3 separate regions of the Homo sapiens genome follow, and all the other regions are linked to region 1. Evidence: promoter capture Hi-C in 16 types of primary human blood cells and fetal thymus (Javierre and others, 2016). All regions are on one chromosome and are shown on one strand. The core of a region is centred on a gene start or on the middle of the fragment in contact, and the rest is flanking DNA. Distances in the headings are between cores, read along the strand shown. Region 1 holds the start of IL24 (interleukin 24). Region 2 overlaps CR2 (complement C3d receptor 2). Region 3 overlaps CR1 (complement C3b/C4b receptor 1 (Knops blood group)).

Evidence for each region. The method cuts DNA at HindIII sites, captures the fragments that hold promoters and counts their contacts. A CHiCAGO score of 5 or more calls a contact.
Region 2: a contact is called between a fragment that was not itself captured here and the fragment with the promoter of IL24 in region 1, in 1 of 17 cell types (endothelial precursors). The highest score is 5.1, in endothelial precursors.
Region 3: a fragment that was not itself captured here is called in contact with the fragment with the promoter of IL24 in region 1 in 2 of 17 cell types (naive B cells and endothelial precursors); the score reaches 6.1 in naive B cells.

What each region holds. Positions count from the first base shown.
Region 1 is chr1:206,895,776-206,898,887 of GRCh38, reverse strand. IL24 (interleukin 24) reads right to left here and starts at 1,445. Exons shown (of 7, transcript NM_006850.3): 1 at 1,273-1,445; 2 at 1,012-1,157. The coding sequence starts at 1,055. LOC105372879 (a long non-coding RNA gene) reads left to right here and starts at 2,770. Exons shown (of 2, transcript XR_007066836.1): 1 at 2,770-2,894. The HindIII fragment of the contact is 4,835 bases long and covers 1-3,112 here.
Region 2 is chr1:207,466,753-207,469,885 of GRCh38, reverse strand. It overlaps CR2 (complement C3d receptor 2), which reads right to left. Exons shown (of 20, transcript NM_001006658.3): 2 at 2,974-3,133; 3 at 1,171-1,359; 4 at 987-1,086; 5 at 654-736; 6 at 1-191. Among named protein-coding and RNA genes, the nearest start is that of CR2, 14 kb to the right of the region's middle. RefSeq lists an enhancer at 1-609. The HindIII fragment of the contact is 262 bases long and covers 1,644-1,905 here.
Region 3 is chr1:207,500,066-207,503,111 of GRCh38, reverse strand. All of the region lies in intron 1 of CR1 (complement C3b/C4b receptor 1 (Knops blood group)), which reads right to left. Among named protein-coding and RNA genes, the nearest start is that of CR1, 5.4 kb to the right of the region's middle. The HindIII fragment of the contact is 195 bases long and covers 1,380-1,574 here.

The DNA of each region.
Region 1 (3,112 bases), core at 196-2,695:
GCCACTAGGCACACATAGGCTGGCAGGTCTTTTTCTCCTCCCCAGGAGACGGCTGTCCCTCACTCCTCATCACAAGGGAGCAAGGGGTTAATCCTGGTCCCAGGGAGGGGCACAGAGGGCAGGTCAGGGTCACACACAGACTATGCCACCTCCACTAACCACTCACTCTTGAGTCTAAAAATTCACTTTTTTTAGTAACCAAATGAGAGAGAGGCATCAGATTTCCAGATGAATCATCTCTAAAGCCTTCCTCTGAAGTGCCAGTTGGGAAGGACTGAGTGAAGAGCCTCCAAGCTGGGGAACCTAACGCCATTATGTATTTATTATAACTGATGCAGAGAATTTCTTTCCCCCTGCCTTCTTTGCCCTTTGTCCTTTCCCTCCCTCTCTCCCTCCCTCCCTCCTTACCTTTCTTTCTTCCTTCTTTCCTCTCTCGCTCCCTCCCTTTCTTACTTTCTCCCTTTCTTTCGTACTTCTTTACACAATCATTTAAGAACCTTTCTTACTGCAGGCACTGGTCTGACACCTAAAGAAACTGCCTCCCACCCCTACACCGGGAGGAAGACCAGAGAAGACCCGGTTCTGCTGGTACCTGGGCTAGGGAGGCGGCGACCCCTGGGTTATGGGTCACGGGGGACGGGGGCTATGCTTTAGCATCTCCCTCAATGTCTTTTCATTCTGTTCTTTCAAACTCCACAGGCTTTTTTTTTTTTTTTTTTTTTTGACAGAATTTCAGTCTGTCACCCAGGCTGGAGTGCAGTGGCATGATCTCGGCTCACTGCAACCTCTGCCTACCAGGTTCAAGTGATGCTCATGCCTCAGTCGCCCAAGTAGCTGGGATTTTTGTATCTGAAAATATCAAAAACACATGCCCAACTAATTTTTTTTTGTATTTTTAGTAGAGACAGGGTTTCACCATGTTGGCCAGGCTGGTCTCGAACTCCTGACCTTAAATGATCTGCCCACCTCAGCCTCCCAAAGTTCTGGGATTACAGGTGTGAGCCACCGCACCTGGCTAAAGTCCACAGGCTTTGCAGCCTCTGTTGAAAATTCATCTCTCAGTCTCGTGTTCCTCCTGGCCTTCCTCCCAAGCAGCCTCAATTCTTCTTGGTGTTAAATTGGCGAAAGCAGCTCCTCATCACAGTCATGTCTTGTCCCTACATCAACACTCAAAAAAATTGACTTCTGCTGTCCCCACCTTGACCCCTTTTCACAAATAAAGCAGAGGTCTAGTCCTTCAAAAAAAAGTAACCAAGAATCCCCCATGCTCACCTCTGGTCCTGTAAGTGATGCTTGAGGGCTGGCTGCCTGGAGGCAGCTGGTTCTTTTTACAGAAAAGTTAGACAGGCACCTTCACCATTCACCAATCAGAGGCATAGCTGTGGGTGGAAGGTTCCCGTCCCAGCCGTGGAAGTCATTTCAGAAGTAAAGGTTTGCAGGCAAGCAAGGCTTTGTGGAGATTTGGGCATATATATGGGGGCTGATGGGGGAGGGGTGGAGGAAAAAGAGGGAGGTGGAGAAAGGGAAATTGGTCATGCTTTCCTAGAGAATTACTTCATTGCCTAGTCACCCATCACTTTAAGGACAATACAGCGATGGGGAAAGCAGCCCCTGAGGTGAGATGAGACCTGGGTTTGAGTTCAGGCTCTACCACTGGCTGTGTGGGCAGGGGCAAGTCTCTTAGCTTCTCTGCGCTGCAGTCTCTGCATGTATAAATTTTTAAAAAATTTGTCCCACCTCCCCCCAAGGGCAAGTGTAATAAACAGAGGCAAAAACAACACAGAGGTGCTTGGTAAACTCTGTACACATGTAAATACATTATTACTGTGCAGCATACACCAGTCTCCTTCCTGTCAAAATAATTCAATAATGATGCCCTATTCATGCTGGGACAGTAGTCCACAGCGAAGAAATAACCTGTAAGTACCTCTCCTTTAATCCATCAGGGCCAGGAAGTTGAGGAGTGTTTCCTGACATGCAGCTACCCATGGTCCCTAGGGTTATAATCACTCAACCAAAATGTGCCTCTCCTTAGGTTCTGGAAACCAGGAAGAATAAGGAAATGTACGCATGGACAAGCCCAGAAAGCTGGGAGGCCTGGTGCTCTGGTGGGCTAGTCTTGGCCTGTGTGGCTCTGAACCACTCAGGGGACACAGACAGCGTGATGTGTCAAGACTGCCAGGGCAGTCAAGAGCTCTGACCCTATCTCCAGCTAGCAAGGCACTCAGCTCTAGATTCTACCATGTGCCCAGTGAGGGCATCAAGCAGAGCAGTGTTTCCCAAAGCACAGTCCTCAGACTCTAGGTTTGAGGAATTCTTGTCTTGCAAGATCCTCCATGAAACAGATGAATCCTAATGAGGTCAGTTAGAGAGCCCTGGCATGTGCTAGCCCGTCCTGGAAATGTCTGATGCTTCTTAACTCTGTTTAATCCAGCATTTCCCATAAGTATTTGCCCACATCCCTGAGGAATACATTTTGGGAATCAGGGATTGGCCAACTGTAGGTCACAAGCCAAATCCAGCCTGCCACTGCTAAGCTGAGAATGGCTTAACCTTGCGACCTAAGAGTAGTTTTTACGTTTTTTAATGATTGGGGAAAAAATCAAAAGAAAGACATTATTTTCAGGTTTCCGTATCCATAATAAATAAAGTTTTCATGGGGTCACATATGTTTGTTGACATATTGTTGCTAATTGCTTTCGTGCTACAGAGGCAGAGATGAGTAGTTGTGACTGAGACCATATGGCACACAGAGCCTAAAATAGTTCCTGTCTGGTTCTTTACAGGAAGAGTTTGCCCAACCTGGGTCCAGGCATGGGAAACGGGAGTAGGAATGTGACGTGGGGGACAGGATAACTGCCTCCAGCTCAGTGGAGATGAAAGAAAAGAGGAGAGTGAGTAGAACACACCCTTGGCAGACTCTTCCCAATCTCTCTGGCACCAACACCCCCTCCCTCCATCTCATACTCAGTGTTGTTTATTTTCTTAAGCAAACAAAATACTCCTTTGCAATCCCTGGCCAGCAGTCTGCTTGGCTATAGCTGCCACCAGCCTGAATCCTTTGTTCCTGGAGGGCCCGAGTCTTACCCTCCAGAAGTAGGCACAGCCCCAC
Region 2 (3,133 bases), core at 525-3,024, 570 kb before region 1:
ACTCCAGGTCCCAGTCTTCTGACTATCAACTGTACAACGGAGAGTGCTCTCTCCAATAAGGATGAAGTTCACTCCTTCCTCTGGGTCCGGGTCACAAGTGTAAGTGACTATGCTTCCATATGAGACATTTGCTAGTGAGTTGCCTATATGTCTTCCATTGAGAATAGGGGGAGGTGATGGGCAAAAAATTTCTAGGGGAATTGCAGAAAGAAATGACAAGATCATAGGTGTATTGAAAACAAAGAATGCCCCAGATGCTGCTTGATACCACTATCCTAGGACAGTGATATCCGAGTCTATAATGAATCAGTCAAGGCAGCTAAAGCAACATAATTTAGAAGATTGATTCTCAAGCTTCATTCCTGAGTATATGTACTCTGCTGATCCTTTGATTTCTTTTACCAAATACACTATTTTCTTTATGCATATGGTCTACCTACTTAGAAGGTCTGCATAGCTTTCAGAGGAGGGAAAGCCTAGGAACCCCATTTTACTTGAGGAAACAAAAAATAAGGATGCTTTGGTGAAGCACATATCCTTAAAGATCTCTAGGAGTTCTGTGTTCAGTAAGAGTCTGTAAGGTAATGACTGAACCAAAAGCTTTTAGTTAAGCTGAGAATGCAGTGCTGTCAGACCATAGTTGCCTAGCCTACCTTCACATACTGGCATTTTGGTCCAAGCAACTCCCTGTCCAGCAATTACACACCGACTAGAAGGTGGGCCTTGCAGTCGATACCTGGAGACAGAAGGTTGTCATTCAGAACTATTAGGCAGTTTGTGCTGAAGAACAGCAGCCTCTACTTACAATTCAAGACAAGTTCATTTCAATCAGTGTGCATCTGTTCCTTTTATCAGCATTACCTCTCACAACCCTACCCCAGACTGCCCAGAGATCCTCACAGAGGAGACTTCTGCAGGTTTCACAGTCCACACCACGCACACACAAGACAAATGAATTAAATCTCATAAATAATCCTGACACTCACCCTTCATCACAGAAAAAGTTTGCAGTTACACCAACCCGGAGAATTGGAGGCTCCTTTACCTTCCCATTGGGAAATCGTCCTAGAGATTTACAGCGTGCCTCTAAAAAACAAACCAAAGATGAGAAATGCATGGCAAATAACAGAACAGCCCAGATTCTTAAAATAGATTGTAAATTTAGGGTACCTTCACATGTGGGGGGGACAGCACTCCATTTTCCCGAAGACAAACAGTTAATGATCTTTTCTCCAACAAGCAAGTAACCAGATTCACAGCTGTAAGTCACAGACAATCCTGGAGCAATGGAGCCAACATTCTCACTTGTGTGATGTCCATTGTGGATCATAGGAAGTGCTGGACACTCGAGAGGGAAAACTTTACACACACATACCAGGAAAAAAAAGCCGTCAGATGATGCATCCTTCACAATCTAGAATCAAGGGGGTCCAATCTTTTGGCTTCCCTGGGCAACATTGGAAGAAGAAAAATTGTCTTGGGCCACACATAATATACGCTAACACTAATGATAGCTGATAAGCTAAAAAAATTGCAAAAAAAAAATCTCATAATGGTTTAAGAAAGTTTATGAATTTCTGTTGGGCCACATTCAAAGCCATCCTGGGCCACATGCTGTCCACGGGTAGCGAGTTGGACAAGCTTGATCGAGATGCTGACTTAGGATATGGATTTAAATAAATGACACATGATCTATGGTAGCCAGTTGGTATTAACTTTCAACCTAGTCTTTTAAAGATCAAACAGGTGTGGTTTAAGTGTATCCATTTTATGCCACAAATAGCCATAAATAGTACCTTATTTTTCATTTTTAGTTACACTATATGAATTACATTTGCCTTGTGAAAAATTTCAATTACCAAAAAAAGTCAATTTTCACCTATATTCTCACCCTATCCTTAAGCTTATTCTCTGTTCCAAAAGTAGCATGCTATCATTTCAAGGGCTATCCTGGTAGATATTGGCAATATAGTTTATTGGGATCCTATGCATGATACATATATACACCTATATTATGTGTGTGTGTACAACTAATACATATTCTATGCCTTACTTCCTCTACTTAGCGACATGTATACGATATCCTTCCATGTCCATACATATATGTCTGTCTAAATTGTTACAAAGGCTTAACTGTTTTCAGCAGCCATTGCCCTTTGTAACTATCGTTAAGATCTCCTTCCTCCAAGGCTATTTATCAATCAATCAATCAATAAACAGAATCCCATTTTATACTAATTTAACAGTTTTGTCAGCTCTTTAATCTGCTTAAAATTTGTCAATATTGTTCTTTATTAAGAAAATACCTAATTTGATAGTATAATTTTTGTCAAATATTGCCATTTCTTGTAATTGTGGAATTCAAATTCAGATTTATATTTCAGCAGCAACATAAACCAAACCAAAAGAGAAGGAATGAATAATTTACAGTAGGTCCCTATTTTCAAAGGCATTTATTTGAAATGTGATGGCTCAGAAGATGACTTGGGGAAATAGTGGATAACTTCAAAACATGTTTACAGAGACCACAGAGAGCAGGATATCACCTGTGCTAGACTGTGTTAGCAGCTACTTATACATTAATTTCAAATCCATTGGGTGTATTTTTGCTATAAGATCCCACCGTTCTTCTCATTTTAACAGTAACACAGATATACAGTTGAAAACCACCCCATTCCCACATCCCCAACAAACTCTGACCCCATCCTTGCAAAACTTACCCTACTCAATTATTAGGTGTGTTTAATTACATTTTTCCATGTACTTTAAACTCCTTTGCTCAATTGATGTTTTTTGAACGAGCAGTTATATGCCTCCACGAAGAAGCCATAACTTTCACCTTTTCCCTTGTTTCCTTCTTCCACCCTCATCATTACATGTTCACACTGTTTGTCCTTCAGGAGGGTACAAAACGTGGTCTGCACAGAAAGGCAAGACCCCAACCTCCCAACCCAGCTTTCTTTTCATACTCACCACTTACACAGGTTGGTAGTCGTGTCGGCCCCCACATATTATTTGCTTGACACCAAACAGACTTGTTTCCGTTCATGGAGAAGTTGGTTTTACAGGCAAATGTCACAGAATCACCATGTCTGTAGGGTGTAGAGCCTCTAATTTTGTATCCTCCTGGTAC
Region 3 (3,046 bases), core at 228-2,727, 600 kb before region 1:
ACTTACGATTATTACCCTTAGAAAAGGGTAAGGGGACTTCTAAGAGTTAAATTCGATTATTCCGCTAAAGTGGGAGTGCTTGCTTTGCTTCCAAGAGTTCATTTTCTGCTCCTTTGCAGAACTAGCTTGGAATGAGCCTATGCTGTCGGGAATGCACTGGATGACCTCAGTGACTGGTGACCTCAGCTCTCCTGAGTGAATGTGCCCCGGATTCAGCCTGGGACTTCTCATCTGCATCTCATGAGCTCCATCATAGTGCCCACGGGACCCCGGACAGAGAGGAGAATTCCTAAGGTTGCCTTTTCCCTGTTGTCAATGGCTTTAGTCAGAATTGGAAGCCTAACTCTGTGCTTTCTACTGAAGCAAAGGATGATGCTCCAAGAAAGCTCATATTTCTTACTTATTTTTCCCAGACAGCCTGTATCCATCATCACACATTTGCTTTATTAAGCCAGCAGTTGTTAAGCAAGGAAGCCCTTGTCTATGTTCCCTGCCTCATCTTGTGCCACTTGGTCCCCTCACCAAGGTGTGGCCCTTTCCCCTTTTTCAGTTTCCCAAAGACACACATTTTTCCCGTCTATGACATTCCTTCTATGTGACGCAATTTTATCTTCACTCTGACTTCAATTCTTCCTTCAGGCATCTGCTAAAATGTCACTTTCTTATAGAAGCCTTCCCCAGCCTGCCTATGGCCATACCACCCTGAACACACCCAATCTCATCTGAAGCCTTCCCTGACCCTCTTAGGGATTTGGAATCTAAACTACTTCCCTCTGCCCCACCCTATAATAATTTCTAGTCCGACACTTTGCTTTTCCTTTCATATCAATAATTGTTTGTTATTACAATTTGTGCTTTTTATCTTTGTGTGCTTTTAGAAGTATCTATTTCTCTCAATAGATATTAGATATGCATAATTTAAAGGCAAGAGATGATGTGTTTTTTTGTACCTCTAAATTAATACTTAGTCCTGGTGCTTAACACTCAATTATAAGAACTCAATGCATATTTGTTGCAATGAACAAAAAATGAAGAATTACTTATAAAACTCAAAAAAATCAAGAATCCAAGCTATGTCCCCCAAATCTCTGATTTAGTGGGTCTAGGTTAGGGCCCAGGAGTCTATTTTTAAAAATTTTCACAGCTGATTTTGATAGATAACAGCACTTTGAGGATACTGTAAAAAAAAAAAACACTGAGTAAAACAGTTGCTGTTATTTTCAGTGTTATGCATTCACCTTTCCTCTAGTTGATATGTGGGATGAAATACAATTTTGATATTTGTCTTATCCATTGATGCCGGACAAAGGAAGAGATTCCATGTGAAGTGCCTAGCGCCAAAAGCTGTATTGAGAGAGGGTAAATGTCACAGCAAAGCTTGCAACGAGAGGAAGGAATGAGACCTAAAGTAACAAAGCAAATTGAATGAACCATTCTTGGAAAGAAGTTCCTTCCCCTTAATTACATAATATTCTTACCTGCATAGTAGTATATGAATAGTATAGGTAATTATAAAAAGCAAAGTTGTATAATAGCTCAAAAAAGGAATATATGAGCCTTCAACAAAGAAAGCTTGATGTAGTTTCCTTTCTCTCCTTTATTACCAATCCCTCAATTGTGACTAGTTCCTATGACAAATATATTAATATAAAATCCACAAACTGAAGACCTACCATAATTTTAAAAGTTTTTATAGCTTTATCAAGATATATTACATACAATGATTGATGAGTATTTGAAGTGTACAATTCGATTACTTATAACATATGTATGCGTTGTGAAACCATCACCAAAATGAAGACAATAAACGTTTCCATCATACATCCCACCCACACAGAGTTCCCTCATGCCCTTCTGTAATCCATCCAAACATCCACTTCCTTCTCTAGGCAACCTTCAATGTGTTTTCTCTTACTACAGATTGATCTGACTTTCTAAAATTTCATATAACCCGAATCACTTCGTTTATATCCTATCATATAAAGGAAATAACTCAGGTGGTTTTCTCTTACTACAGATTGATTTGACTTTCTAAAATTTCATATAACCTAAATCACTTCATTTATATCCTATTGTATAAAGGAAATCACTCAGGTTTTTTTTTATGGTTTAGCCTTCACACAGCATAATTAGAGATCCATCTAGGTTGCTGCATGTATACAAATTGTTTCCTTTAGTTGCTGGGTAATATTCAATTGCATAAATATATCTTAATTTAGTTTATCCATTTACTTGTTGAGGGACATTTGGATTGTTTCCACGTGTTGGCTATTACAAACAAAACTGCTATGAAAATTCATGTACAAGTCTTTGTGTGGACATATGATTTCATTTCTCTTGGGTAAAAACCTAAGAGTAAAATGTTGAGTGTGTGTCTAAGGTTTTAAGAATCTGTTGAACTATTTTCTAAAGTTAATGTTATAATTTTACCTGCCAAATAGCAGTATATTATAATTCCAGTTACTCCACCTTATCGCCAACACTTGGCTCGGTCAATCTTTTTCATTTTAGTCATTCTAGTGGGTATGTATTGTTATCTCATTTCGGGTTTTGTCTTGTATGACTCAGCCCACTTTCACATTCTCCTGGTTCAGATATTCCATTCAAAGCAAGTTGATGTATTCTGTGCTATATGCACAATTAACACATCATCACTTTCATGTCTGTTGCAATATGAGCTGTCAACCCAAAGAACACTCTGCTTTCCATTCTGCATACTTACCCTTTAAGGAATAGATTTGCACTTGCTTTGCTTAGGCACCTCTATCAGTTTAAAAAAAGAGCATGCCCTTTCAAATATATAAATTTATAAATTATATATGTACACGAACATAAATTATATGCCTCAATATAAATTTTTGAAATGTAACACAGATAAAATAAATATTTTAAATGCTTTGTTAATCATCATGACTTAGCACAATCATTAGCTAACATCTAACGGGACAAAAAACAGTCACATTGAGTCTCTCTGTTCACAATAGTGAATGTAAAGCTTATTTCGACAGTCTTCATGATACTTTCTAGGTTTTTTGGTTTCATCGAG